3 separate regions of the Homo sapiens genome follow, and all the other regions are linked to region 2. Evidence: promoter capture Hi-C in human tissues and cell types (Jung and others, 2019). All regions are on one chromosome and are shown on one strand. Each heading gives the region's core, a stretch centred on a gene start or on the middle of the fragment in contact. The rest is flanking DNA. Distances are from core to core; before and after follow the strand shown. Region 1 overlaps PPARG (peroxisome proliferator activated receptor gamma). Region 2 holds the start of TIMP4 (TIMP metallopeptidase inhibitor 4). Region 3 overlaps PPARG (peroxisome proliferator activated receptor gamma).

Region 1 (4,873 bases), core at 130-2,629, 190 kb before region 2:
GGATCAACTAAACACTTTTGAAATTACTGTAACTTTGAACCAAAGACGTCCCACCTAAACTATGTTAACTTGTCGTTGCATGTAATATCTGAAATTCTCTAGTAAGCTGTTTTCTAGCATAGTAAAATACCATGAACTATATTATCAACTGACACATTTTCATGTTGTGGGAAACCTAAACCTCTAAAACATGTATCTTTTTCAGTTTTCAGATTTTATCAATGAATTTTTCAAGATCAGTTATATGGAGATTTATTGGGTAGCACATCCTGTCACTGGTGAAGCACAGTGGGAATTCACAAAGGTTCTACAGCAAGCGTAGAGCCGCGGAGCTGCACTCAGTTTCAGCTGGTGTCACTTACCAGTTCTGTGACTGTACTAAAGGAAATTTACGTACTGTTGAAATCACGGGCTCACGAAACTTAATAGGAGGGAGATTAGCATATTCCAACTCTTAATTTTTGATATAAGGAAAATGGGTTCCAGAGGAATGAAATGATTTGCCCAAAGCATGACCTAGATAAATTAGCAGCAGAGTTTGAGCTAGAAACCAGGTTTCTTGATTCCCAGTCCAAAGCTCCAAACGATGCTCTATCTCATTAAAATGATGCAGTAAGACGTTCAAATCAGTTCTTCAGGTCAATGATCCTTAATGCCAACAGTCATGGTGGAAGTCATCAGCATGAAAGCATTTTTCTATGATGAATCACTTAATGTGGAGGAATTACCTATGAAAATGTCATCATTCACCACAGGGTTTAGATATGGTGCTCTCTACAAAGTAAGTACTCAATTATGACTCGGTAATTAAAATTTGATAATATTTGAACATCAGTTCACGGAGTCATTTTGCTGACGAATGTTCTCTTGCCTCATTCACAGATTCTTCATGAGTCATCCCAGCATTCTGGGGTTCTTCTGGTATGATGTTTTTGTTTCTATTGACAAAGTTCCTTGCTCTTAAGAAAATGATAACATTACTATTTGAAAATTTCTACTTTGAGGTAACAATACTCTAAAAAAAAACACCTTGGATCTGTATAGTGTTTTTATTTCGTTTGAAACTCACAACAATGCTGGGAGGTTATTCAAAGCAAAAGAAGAAAATAATAACAACTATTGAATAGGGTTTCAATGTGGAACCAGATAATAGTTTTTGGCAGTAAAGCTTTGAGTAATTTGTCTTTATTCAAAATGAACAAAGAGTCAAACAGACCTGGGTTTGCATTCAAGCCTTGTCACATCTCTGTTTTCTTATCTTTTCGGAGTTGTGAGAATTAGAGATGATTTAAATAAATCAGCGTCTGGAACAGAGTAGGCTTTCAAAATTATATTATGAATTCTTATAATCAAATATTTAAATCTTACATGACACTTTAATAAAGCAATAAGAGCAGTCATCAAGCAACACTCTTATCGCTCTTATGTTAACAGGAGCTACATAAATACGCTTCAGGAAGAGACGGTATATAGAGTATGGAATCTTCAAAAGCAAGTACAAATTTTTAAAGTTCACTTAGCGGAAGTAGACATATTTTCTTCACACCAACAAATAGATATTTGACTGAAAATAAAATGTAACTGTGAAATCAGTACATAATAAACTTAATTTTGATGGCAATTAAACCACAGGCAACACAGAGTATATTTTATGTTTATTTTCCGGTAAGATTCATCAGTCCATTAATAGTAGATGGTTCAGTCTAAAAGTTTGTCTCTAACAATCTTTATTAGACACATTATAAATTCTTTCCCAATCTAGAACTTTACATTTGAACTTATAGAATATATCTTAAAGCAGCATTAGTAAAAGTAAGAAGACTTGAAAATATAAACTAGCTTTAAGTAAGATTCAGATTCCACATTTATTGAGTGCCTACGCTGTCAGGGGCTGTGCTAAGTCTTTTAAAATAAAAATTTGTCTAGACTTTATAAAAATTCTGTGAGATTGGCTGGGCGTGGTGGCTCACACCTGTAATCCCAGGACTTTGGGAAGCCGAGGTGGGTGGATCACCTGAGGTCAGGAGTTTGAGACCAGCCTGGCCAACATGGCGAAACCCTGTCTCTACCAAAAATACAAAAATGAGCTGGGTGTGATGGCACATGCTTGTATTCCCAGGTACTCAGGAGGCTGAGGCACGATAAGTACTTGAACTTGGGAGGCAGAGGTTGTAGTGAGCCGAGTTTGCCCCACTGCACTCCAGCCTGGGTGATAGAGCAAGATTCTGTCTCAAAAAAAAAAAAAAAAATTCGGTGAGATTGAATGGTAGCCCCATTTCACAAAAAGGAAACAAGCTCAGAAAGAATGAGGGTGATGTTATGATTAGATAATGGGCTGCTAAATACCGAGCAATACAGTTAAGTATCACATAACTAGGGATAGAATAATATAAATAAGACTGAGCATCAATTCTCAAGCCATTTTCCTACTTTTAGTAAAGAGGATAAGACAAGCACAATGCACTCTAATATACGAGTAGGTGGTTTGAGAGAAGTGCAAACAATCATGACCATTACTAGAGTAATTTCTGTTGAGCTATGTATTCTGCCTCTACTGCAGTACTCGCCACTGACTTGAGGCCCTCAACCCTGCGAAGTCATTTATTATCACCATTTTACAGATAAAGAAATTGAGTTTTGAGATCACATAGCTAATAAGAGGCAGAGAAGGGATTTAAACCAGATGCAATGGAGTGCGAAAGATATTCAGAGATGAACAGAGCCCTTCTGACTGTGCATGGAGATGGAAGGAATCCAAAAAGCCTTCAGGAAAGAGAGGAAATCTGAGATGAGCCTGAAAGACAGAGAAGCTTTGGATGGCAGGAACAAGGAAAGGGAACAGAGTGAAGAAAGGCAAGACTCAACCAAGAGAGAAGAGTGAGAATGAACTTGGGGAATGAGAATCCATGGTATTGGGCACCTGTGGGACGTTTTGGGATAGAAATTTCCAAGGGCTACTAGGCAGTGATTTAGATCAACACAGGGGAGCCAAAAACAACAAACGTGTCTTAGACCTACTGTTTCAGGCTGGCAGAGTTCTGTGTGCACATCATTAAATAATACTGTACGTGTGTAGGATAGGATAAAAGAAATCTCTTTAGTAAAGATACTGAATTTCAAATGAAGTACAATACAGTTTACATATGTTAAATCTTTGTATTTGAAAGCTTGGTGGTTTTTAAAGATACTAGAGTGTTTTCTAGTCTTTATATCTTCTTTCCTCCAAGGAAACATTTTCATTTTCCTTGAAGGAAAGAATACACTGCTGCTTTTCTATCTGAAAAGGTAGGGGTTTTTTTGTTTAAAAAAAAAAAACCACCTTTCATTATTATAGAACCAATCCGCGTTCATTGTTAAAAATTAGAAAATACAGACTGGTAAAAACAAAATGATTATACTTCCACTACCAGATATAACCAATGTTGAACTCTTAAAGTTTATGCATCTGGGTCTTTTTCTGGGCATATGTATGATCATATGTATATACAGATACATAAGCACATACACATATACACATACATACAGCATGTGTATTTTTTAATCAAAATGAGATATGGTACTTCCTGGTAGTCCTCTGCTTTTTCAAGTCAATAATCTCCATCTTTTCATTTAATTACATTTTCATTTCAAACAATACCCAGCCCATAGTCACATTTCCCCAGCTGACCCCAAATGTTCTTTATAGTTGGTTTGCTCCAACCCTAATCTAATCCAGTATGATGAAATGCATTTGGCTGTATGTTCCTAAGCTGTTTTAAATCTAGCATGACTACTCCTTCCCCTTAATTTTAAGGCCACTGACTAATTGAAGAGGTCAGGCCAGTTATCAGATAGAATGTCTCAACCTCTGAATTTGTCTGGTTGTTTTCTTGTTGTATCATTTAGCTTGATTCTCCATCCCCTGTGTTTCTTATAAACTGGACACTATATCCAAGGATTTCTGGATTCAAGTTAAACATTTTAGGCTTGAATATACCATAGGGGATGTGTACTTCCTATTCCATCACATCAGAAGGCAAAATATATGACTGACCATCAGCCATGGTAAAATCTACCACTAAGTTAGAATGGTGATATGTCTCATCTCTCCATTGTACAGTTACTTTTTCTCCTTCAATTAGACAGTCATCAGTGCAATGTTACTTTGGTATTACAAGGATGTTCAGTTTCATTAATCATTCACCTAAAGGTGTAACAAACTTTATCATCTTTTCCTGAATCAATACTTGGAGTTTATGAAATGTTTTTCTAATTCCACCACTCTTTCCACATTTATTAGTAGGAAATTTTTTTTCTTTTTTTGAGACAGGGTCTTGCTCTGTTACCCAGGCTGGAGTGCAGCAGCGCGATCATAGCTCACCGCAACCTCTGACTCCCAGGCTCAAGCGATCCTCCTACCTCAGCCTCCTGAGTAGCTGAGACCACAGGCGCGTGCCACAATGCCCAACTAACTTTTGTATGTTTTTGTAGAGATGGGGTTTCACCATGTTGCCAAGGCTGGTGTTGAATTTCTGGGATCAAGTGATCTGTCCACCTTGGCCTCCCAAAGTTCTGGGATTACAGGCATGAGCCACTGTACCCAGACAGCAGGCATTTTTCTATAAGGAAGATCTTTCCTTCAGCAACTAAAGCCATGTAATTACCCTGAAATACAGTTCCTACAAGAAAGGAAGACTGCTTGTTTAATTTGTTCTCTTTTATTAAAAAGGTAAATATCTTCAACACCAAACATTCCTAGGCACATCTCTTTCCTCTGTTCATTGAATGTTCACATCATAAAACACTTACATATCTAAGTTTTTCTTTTTCAGCTATTTTTAGAGAATTTTATTTCAAATTCATCTTTCTCCATTTTCCTTGGCCCTATGGACAG
Region 2 (4,525 bases), core at 1,170-3,669:
TCTTATTTGGTATACCCTACATCTTTAAAATGCACTGTCAATTTTCTCTGCATTAGACAAAACCTGGGCAGGACTGGCCCTCAGACAAAGAGAATTAAAAAAAGAAAGTATCTCTGAAAGAGTGAACTTTACTATATGTAGATGTACTTTAATAAACCTGTATTTTTATTTTAAAAACACATCTTTGGCATCTTGATGTCCCTGTCAGCATGTACCCTCTTGGTACCTACAACCTTCAAAGGCCCAGCTTTCCTGTAATGATCCTGGTTGTTTTCTCCCTCTTTCACACTCTTCACTGCTCACCAATACCCCAATCTCACCACCAAACAAGGCTTTGCATGTGAAGGCCCATTTCTTCCCAGCTTGGGGTTTGAAAGAGAGCCGGTAGAAGAATTCAGTATGTTTATAAATGCAGAGAGATCCTTAGGGGAGCGAACTCTACACTGAGGTAGCCATACTTTAACAGAGGAGCAACAAAACCTTAAAAGAAGGATTATCCTCTAAGGGCAAGATTTCAAGCTGCTACAAAATGGTGATGTAAGAAGTAATATTGTGGAGTGGAAGGAGCACTGGGCTAGATGTCAGGAGACGAGTACTCTAGTCCTCTTCTGCCACGGACTTTCTACAAGTCACTGTATCTCACTGGGCCTCAGCCTTCACATCTGTCCAATGAAGAGATCAGATGGGATGCTTTCTGAGCTCCCTTCAAATAGTACATCAGCCTCTATCTTGGTCTGAACATTGTATGAAGAACCAGCCTGGATGCTAACCCGGGCATTTCATCTTTCAGTCAGACTCAGCTCTCTTTCAATTCCCTTCTTTTCAAATATCACTAACACCATCAAAATGAAAAGGTATCCTTTGAAGGAAATAATGTTGACCCTGATGAAAAGTCAGACTCCTATGGGAACTAAGATTTGAACAGATACTGGGGGTATCTGGCCTGAGGATCTCAGCATTCCTGGTTGAGGCCAGCCAAGGATGGGAAGAAGAACTTCAAAGGGCTTTAGAAATCACGTAGTTCAACTCTACTTTATGAAGAAAAAACTGAGGCCCAGAGAGGCAAAAGTCACAAAGCTACAGTGACAGTCAGAATTGGAACCCAGCCTCCCACTATCCAGTCCAGCACCATGTGGAAACATCCCACAGCAATAATCCCATGGAGATTTGGGATTTGGAGGCTTGCAACACTGTGCCCAAACAGCAGACAAGGCTCTGGTCACAGTCACCCCCAAGTCCCCTGCTTCTTTGTTTTTTCTTTTACTTTTTTTTTTTTTTTTTTTTTTTTGAGACGGAGTCTCACTCTGTCGCCCAGACTGGAGTGCAGTGGCACAGTCTCAGCTCACTTCAACCTCCGCCTCCTGGGTTCAAGCCATTCTCTTGCCTCAGCCTCCTGAGTACCTGGGACTACAGGTGTAGGCCACCACGCCCGGCTAACTTTTGTATTTTTAGTAGGGACGGAGTTTCATCATGATGGCTAGGGTGATCTCGAACTCCTGACCTCAGGTGATCAACCCGCCTTGGCTTCCCAAAGTGCTGAGATTACAGGCGTGAGCCACCACGCCCAGCCTGCTTCTTTGTTTTCTAAGCTGTCCCACCTTCTAGAACATGACAGAGTCTCCAGTGAGAAGGGACATGCAATAAAAATCAATGTAGTCTAGGGCCTCGAGAGGGCTTTGAGGTCCAAGGTTTGCCCTAAGTGATGGGACACTTTGTGTTTTGTACACCAAGAGCGCTGTCTCCAGCTATCTGGAGAGTCTGAGGCTCTGGGAGTGAGAAAGGGTTTCTAAAGCACTGGCTGCTTCTTTGACATCTCTCCCCACCCCCCAGGCAACAGAGCCAAGACACACACACCCCAACTTTCTCTGTCCTGTTCTATTACTGTTTGCTGTTGCTTTGGAGCCTCATAAATAGGGCATTGAAAGCACTTCCTGCAGCTGAAAGAAGCCCTGAGTAGCTCGTCTCATTCCCAGCGTGCAGCTCAGCAAGGGGTCCGTCCTTCTCTGTCACTGTCTCTTTTGCCTGTTGTAATTCTGTCTGCCTCTCTGGGACTCTGCCTGTCTCACTCTTTCTGTCTGTGCCTCTCCTCACTCTTGTTCTTTCTGCCTGAATCACAGCCCTCAGTTTTTCTGTCCTCATGCATTTGTCTTTGTGGCTCTTTCCGTCTTTCTGCCCTTGACACCATCCCCTCTCCCAGTGCTTCCCCTCTGCTTCCAGATCGCTTCATGACTTAGGCAGGGAAACAGAGGTCAGGGCCTCCTTCCAGGCTTCCCTCTGCATCTTACTGAGTATGCAGGTCGGAAGAGCCTCGGGTCCTGCCTCCGCGGGTGGCCTAGAGCCAAAGGAAGGCGGAGCCCGTCGGGGCGGGATTGGCCCTTAGGGCCACCTCATAAAGCCTGGGGCGAGGGGCACAACGGCCTTGGGAAGGAGCCCTGCTGGGGCCGTCCAGTCCCCCAGACCTCACAGGCTCAGTCGCGGATCTGCAGTGTCATGCCTGGGAGCCCTCGGCCCGCGCCAAGCTGGGTGCTGTTGCTGCGGCTGCTGGCGTTGCTGCGGCCCCCGGGGCTGGGTGAGGCATGCAGCTGCGCCCCGGCGCACCCTCAGCAGCACATCTGCCACTCGGCACTTGGTGAGTCCGAGGTCCGCGAGGTCCACAGCAGGGGGTGGTTGTGGGGGATTAGTATCTGGCCAGCAGTACACCAGGAGTCCAGAGGAAAAGGGAGGAGCTCAAATTCTTACCGGTTGTCTCTTGCTGAGGCTGATGGGTGGAGAAGGACCAGGCGCCATAGCAACCTTGCAAGCCCAGAACCTGACTGATTCATAAGGAAATGAAGATTTCATCAGGGACTTCCATAGCGACCTCCCTCACTCCGGCCATACTGCAATTATGGAGTGTCATTACACAAGGTGTCACCGGAGCTATCTGATGATTATTCTGAACTACTAGACTGGGGACAGAAAGGGGAGGGGAGAGGGCTTGCATTGTAACTACCCGTGTCTGTCCAGGCCTATAACTGAGGTTGCCACCAAGCCCCTATGGCAACACACACGTTCTGTCCTTTCTCTTCCCTCTGCCTGGAATGCCCTCCCTCACACCCTTAAATTCCTGGCAGACTCCTACTCATCCTTCAAGGGCTAACTTAGGTCTCTCCCCTTCTCTGCAGGCTCCCGGGCTCCTTGGTGCCGCCTCAGCATCTCTAACCGTCTTAGCGCTCCTACTATGCTGTGCTGTTGTTCTTTACACGTGTGCACTCCACTAGATCAAGAGCTCGGCAGGATGGGGACCCTGTCTTAATCACATCTATGGGCCTAGTGCCTAGTGCAAGGCCAGGCACAGAGGAAGAACATCATCAACAGTTTTTGGTTATTAATGCTCAAATGGCAAGAGATGCAATACCTCAGTGCAGGGTCAGAACATTTATGAATTCAATAAACATTTACTAATATCAACTGTAGGCGGGATGAGAGGCCTTGACCACAGCAATAGATAAACTTCACACCGACTGCCCTGAAGGGGCTCCTCCTCCCTTCTCTACTCTGACTCCTACCCTGTGCCCCACTGCACAAACGGCTATGGAGAACTAGAGCTCTCCAGACTAACTGGTTCAAAAGGCAGAAACAGCTTAGCGGTTATAGGACCTAATAAGCCTGAGGGGTTTGGAACTTCCAGTGACTGCAGGGGAGGTGTTTCCAGGTCCCCCTTCTCACACATCACGTTGCTCACAACCCAGCCACACCAAAACCAAGAACTGCCCTATAGACTTCTTCATGGACCCTGGATCATCCAGACCTCAGGTGTATTGCCCCCACCAGCTGCTGAAGGTTCCCTCTTTTCTCTTCCTATGCAGTGATTCGGGCCAAAATCTCCAGTGAGAAGGTAGTTCCGGCCAGTGCAGACCCTGCTGACACTGAAAAAATGCTCCGGTATGAAATCAAACAGATAAAGGTACATGGGGGCAGGCTGGGATGTGTAGCCCCTAAGGCTGATGGAGAAAGTGGAGTCTGTGTTCTGGGAGGGCTGGTAGCTTTCAGGTGGCCTGGCTCAGTAATCCTTGGGTCTAGATACTGAAGTGGAACTGGATGAGATTTGGAGGCAGAGCCCATAGAATCCCAGGGATATTGCCAGGGAGGGCCTCAGCATCCATCTGGTCCCACAGCTGCTGGTGTATGGTGCCACTACAGGTACCTACTGGAATAAACCAAGGTTTAGGTGTTTTTTGTTGTTGTTGTTTTGTTTTAAGAGAGAAAATAACCCAGTAGGGACATCTGAGGACACAAAATCCTCAACTAGACTTTTGCTTACATTTTTAGGCTGAGAAGTGAGAGGTTTTTGTCTGTTAATATATACAGTACACTCACTGACCCAATATTGCCTTTTTTTGTAATTGCCTGTCAGATGTTCAAAGGGTTTGAGAAAGTCAAGGATGTTCAGTATATCTATACGCCTTTTGACTCTTCCCTCTGTGGTGTGAAACTAGAAGCCAACAGCCAGAAGCAGTATCTCTTGACTGGTAAGTTAAAAGAC
Region 3 (4,473 bases), core at 706-3,205, 150 kb before region 2:
CAGGTTAAGATTAAGTTGTACCAGCTTTCCTTGATACTTGTGCCAATTTTCCTTTGAAATACATAGGTATTTCTTCAGAAGTAGATGGGCAAAAAGTAAAGATTTCTAGAAACTGGTATCTATTCTTAGTGTGTAGCCCCAAGTGTCGGATCAAACAGAACACTTGGCTGGTTCTTACTACTGTCAGAGTCAGGCAGATTTAGGTAACCTTTCCCCCAGACCCCCTCCTGCTACCAGTCCTCTTCCTTCTGAACCCATTCAGAACTGCACTGTATCTTAGAAGGAATCGTCCCCAGATGTGAAACACAGTAGGGCAGAGACAAGATCCATTCTGGGGGGAGTAGACACCAAGGATTGCCGTTCTTTCACCTCTGCCATCTGGTCATTTAACTCAAGATTAGTTTATATTCATTCGATTATAAACACCCTACCCATCATCCCTAGAAGCCAGAGAACTGGGCTGTGAAGACAGCAGACAATTGCCTCACACTTAAACACAGCCCACGTTAGACAGGGGCTGTTCATCTCTACTCACACAATGATTTTACATCTGGGATGGGATTTTTACCAGAACCTAAGTAAATAATAAGGCAGGCCAAGGGCAGTTTACTCAGACTAACTTGTCTGAAATGAAATAAATGGTGAAGTTGACTTAAGATACAGAAAAATAATTAACAATGGAAATAATTGAAAACTTATCAAAGAATTACTTCCTCCAAAAGCTATTAGTTTTATAGTTGATTTTTTAAAGCTTTCAAGGAAGAGATGATTTTCTTACTACATAAGCTGTTTCTCAGTAGGAAAAAATATAGTGACATAATTAACTTTTCTGGAGTGTCATAACACTGATATTAAAACCTGACAACAGAGAAAAATATCAGTCCCACTTATCAATATTGATTTTAAATAATAAATAAAATGTTAATTAACAAATTAAATCCTCTATTAAAATAATGAACCACCATAATCAAGTTACATTTATCTCAGAAAGGCAAAGAGGATTTAATATTTGAAAATCTATTAAAATGTGTCACAGCACTAGGTCAAAAAACCGTATGATTACTACAAAAACGACAAAAACAGTACTCAGTAAAATTCAACATCCATTCTTGACAAAATTTCTTTTAAAAAGCATGAAACTTTAAAAACAAGAATATTAATCTCAAACTTTACAATCAGTATCATCTTAATTGTGAAATACAAGAGCAGCATTTCCCAAAATGTATTCTATAGATAACTTGTTCCCTAAGATTTTCCAACAGAAAAGGTTCTACCATAAAATAAATTTGCATATGGTCTTCATTTTTGGAGATTAATAAAGTACATTAGCATAGTATGTACTCTGCAAACCTTGTAATTTAAAAAACAAAACCATCATCAACAATAACAATCTGCTTCTCGGTTTAATTCAATGGTTCTCAAACTTACTTGAACACATGTTTTTAATTTTTTATTATTTCACTCCTCAACCCACTTTACTGTGGTTTTTGTCACCTACCTTTCTACTGAAACTTAAGTATATGTCATCTCCTTCTTGCTAAATCCATTAGACTTTTCTTGACTTCAATTCTATTTTCTCAGTGGCATGCTGGTAAATATTTAACTGGCTCTCTTTGCAGAGAAAAATGCCCTGATTGGTAGTGTTTGCCAATTTTTGTGGTGTAAATACTCCCACCATGACTGATTTAAAAGCAGCACAAATATTACAGTGTATTTCCACTACTCAGATACCATGGGCATGAATCATCTCAGCAATGTAAAGTAATAAGGAAGTGGTATGCTTTGTGTATTTATTACTTTTATTTTTAATATAATTTGTTTAACTGTATTCAATTTAAGTTTTAATAATAGCATGCATAACGATTGGCTCAATAAAATTGTGAAAATTTAACAATGTGGCTCCAGCACACCACGGTCTCTGCCTCTGCAGCATTTGATATTTTGCCCATCCTCCACTATTGAATCTGTCTCTTTTCTTGGCTCCTTGAAATCAGTTTCTCCCTTTTTTTTTTTTTTTTTTTTTTTTTTTGAGACAGGGTCTTGCTCTGTCATCCAGGTTAGAGTACAGTGGTGTGATCATGGTTCACTGTAGCCTCAACCACCCAGGCTCAAGTGATGCTCTCACCTCGGCCTCCCAAGTAGCTGGGACTACATGTGTGCGCCATCACACCTGGCTAATTTTTCATTTTTTTGTAGAGGCGAGATCTCCTTATGTTGTCCATGCTGATCTCTAACCCGCCTTGGCCTCCCAAAGTGCTGGGATTACAGGTGTGAGTCACTGTGCACGGCCTCCTATTATCCTACCTTATGATGACTATTTTAGTCCCTTTTCCTGGTACCCCTGCTTTCTGAGCTTTTCTATTTTGTGTTCTCTAAGTTTCCTCTTGGCCTTCATCTCTTCTTTATATTCTTGCCCTCAGCACTGTGACTCATAACACATCTACTTGCTTACAGCTCCCAAATCTATCTCTAAACACAACTCCTCTCTTGAGAGTTCCAAGGAAGAACAATTCAACACCTAATTGGACAACTCCTCATTCTCTGCAAAATTAAAAGAAATTCCTTTCTTTACCGGGGTCTTTCAAAATACATTAAAGAAAATTCAGCTTATAACCACAAAGCAACCCTTCTCATATACTCCTTCCCTTCAATTTCCTCTTAATTCCCTTTAATTTTCCTTTAAGTGTTTTCACACACCATGCTCTCCAAAGTGTCTCCTTCACCAAAGGCTGTCCTACCTACACACAGTCTTTATTCCCAGCCCAGGAATTTCACGATCTCTCTCTCTTCCTCTCATTCCCAGCACTTTATGTCTATCAACCCAAATCTTCTGCTTTTCTTGACTAGTTCCTTTCTACTCATTCTCTAATTCTTTTTCATAAAAACATAGGACTGACCTTGTAAGATCAACTTTTTTAAGAGTAGGGGAAGGGATTATTGTACTGTCAAATTACAATTCTCTTTGGTGGGTTGGGAGAGGTGGAAGTATGTGAACACTCACAAATGACTAATTTTTGTCCTATGCAAGTAAATACACGGATCTGTCCCCTAACCCCACCATAGCTGACTGATTCAATTAGAGGCCAGACACAAGATGAGCCGTTTACATTCCTCTCCAGATTTTTTACAACACTGACAAAATTTGCTATATTCAATTGACCTCTGTATCCTGAGACAAAATAAAATGTCTTTATTTAGATTAAGAGGAATTTAAGAGAGACAAAAAAAAAAAAAGAATTTCCTAACAGCGGTTGATTTTTTTTTTTTTTTTTTTTGAGACGGAGTCTTGCACTGTCGCCCAGGCTGGAGTGCAGTGGCGCGATCTCGGCTCACTGCAATCTCTGCCTCCCGGGTTCACGCCATTCTCCTGCCTCAGCCTCCCTAATGGCTGGGACTACAGGCGCCCACCACCACGCCCGGCTAATTTTTTGTATTTTTAGTAGAGATGGGGTTACACCGTGTTAGCCAGGATGGTCTCGATCTCCTGACCTCGTGATCCACCAGCCTCGGCCTCCCAAAGTGCTGGGGGATTACAGGCGTGAGCCACCGCGCCCGGCCCAGCGGTTGATTTCTAAGTGATGATGAAGTTACTAAATATAAAGATTTGGTGATCTAATTTATCTTGTCATAAGCAACAACAGGTACTTTCAAGTTGCTTACTACTTACAAGACACATAAGCTGATTTGCAGTGAATTAACACAACTAAAAGTTTAAATTTAATCCACTGTTACATGTGAATATGGTTACACCTGTATAGGTCTAATTGTTAAATGTGGAATAGTGGTGGCGGTGGTGATGGGATGTGGACATCTCATTCCCTGGAAGGCCAAATACTTGCAAAGTAGGCTCCTGTGCATGACAGGGTGGCTGGGTTCAGATTGTCTGGGTTCAAATCCTAGTTTTTATCACCTGGCAGGTTATTTTACCTCTCTGTTCCTGTTTCTTCATCTGACTTTAATACTGTATATTAGGAGTCCCCCACCCCAAGGCCGTGAAGCAGTAGCAGTCCATGGCCTGTTAGGAACTGGGCCACGTGGCAGGAGATGAGTGGTGGGCGAGCGAACATTATTGCCTGAGCTCCGCCTCCTGTCAGATCAGTAGCAGCCTTAGATTCTCAAAGGAGTGCAAACCCTATTGTGAACTGTGCATGTGAGGGATCTATGTTGCATGCTTCTTATGAGAATCTAACTAATGCCTGATGATCTAAGGTGGAACAGTTTCATCCTGAAACCATTTCCACCTGCCACCAGTCTGTTGAAAAACTGTCTTCCATGAAACCAGTCCCTGGTGCCAAAAAGGTGGGGGACTGCTGGTGTACATAGCTGCTGAAAGAATAAAATGAGATAATGTATATAATGTGCTTAAAACAGAGCCTGATATAGAATAAGCATTCAACAAATATTAATTATTACCATCAAGAGCTAGATGACTTATTTGGTGCTTGAGTTAATTATGGAGTTATCGTTCAGAAG

Evidence for each region. The method cuts DNA at HindIII sites, captures the fragments that hold promoters and counts their contacts. A contact is called where the count stands out against the background at its distance.
Region 1: a contact is called between a fragment that was not itself captured here and the fragment with the promoter of TIMP4 in region 2, in 4 of the 25 tissues and cell types used here (IMR-90 fibroblasts, mesenchymal stem cells, neural progenitor cells and 1 more).
Region 3: a fragment that was not itself captured here is called in contact with the fragment with the promoter of TIMP4 in region 2 in 1 of the 25 tissues and cell types used here (liver).

Annotation. Positions count from the first base shown.
Region 1 is chr3:12,341,238-12,346,110 of GRCh38, reverse strand. The region is part of intron 2 of PPARG (peroxisome proliferator activated receptor gamma); the gene reads right to left. Among named protein-coding and RNA genes, the nearest start is that of PPARG, 55 kb to the right of the region's middle. RefSeq lists an enhancer at 248-1,447. The HindIII fragment of the contact is 6,605 bases long and covers 1-4,681 here.
Region 2 is chr3:12,156,806-12,161,330 of GRCh38, reverse strand. TIMP4 (TIMP metallopeptidase inhibitor 4) reads left to right here and starts at 2,419. Exons shown (of 5, transcript NM_003256.4): 1 at 2,419-2,629; 2 at 3,849-3,946; 3 at 4,397-4,511. The coding sequence starts at 2,491. The region is part of intron 5 of SYN2 (synapsin II); the gene reads right to left. The HindIII fragment of the contact is 15,405 bases long and covers 1-4,525 here.
Region 3 is chr3:12,305,900-12,310,372 of GRCh38, reverse strand. All of the region lies in intron 1 of PPARG (peroxisome proliferator activated receptor gamma), which reads right to left. Among named protein-coding and RNA genes, the nearest start is that of PPARG, 19 kb to the right of the region's middle. RefSeq lists a silencer at 3,212-3,419. The HindIII fragment of the contact is 7,356 bases long and covers 1-4,473 here.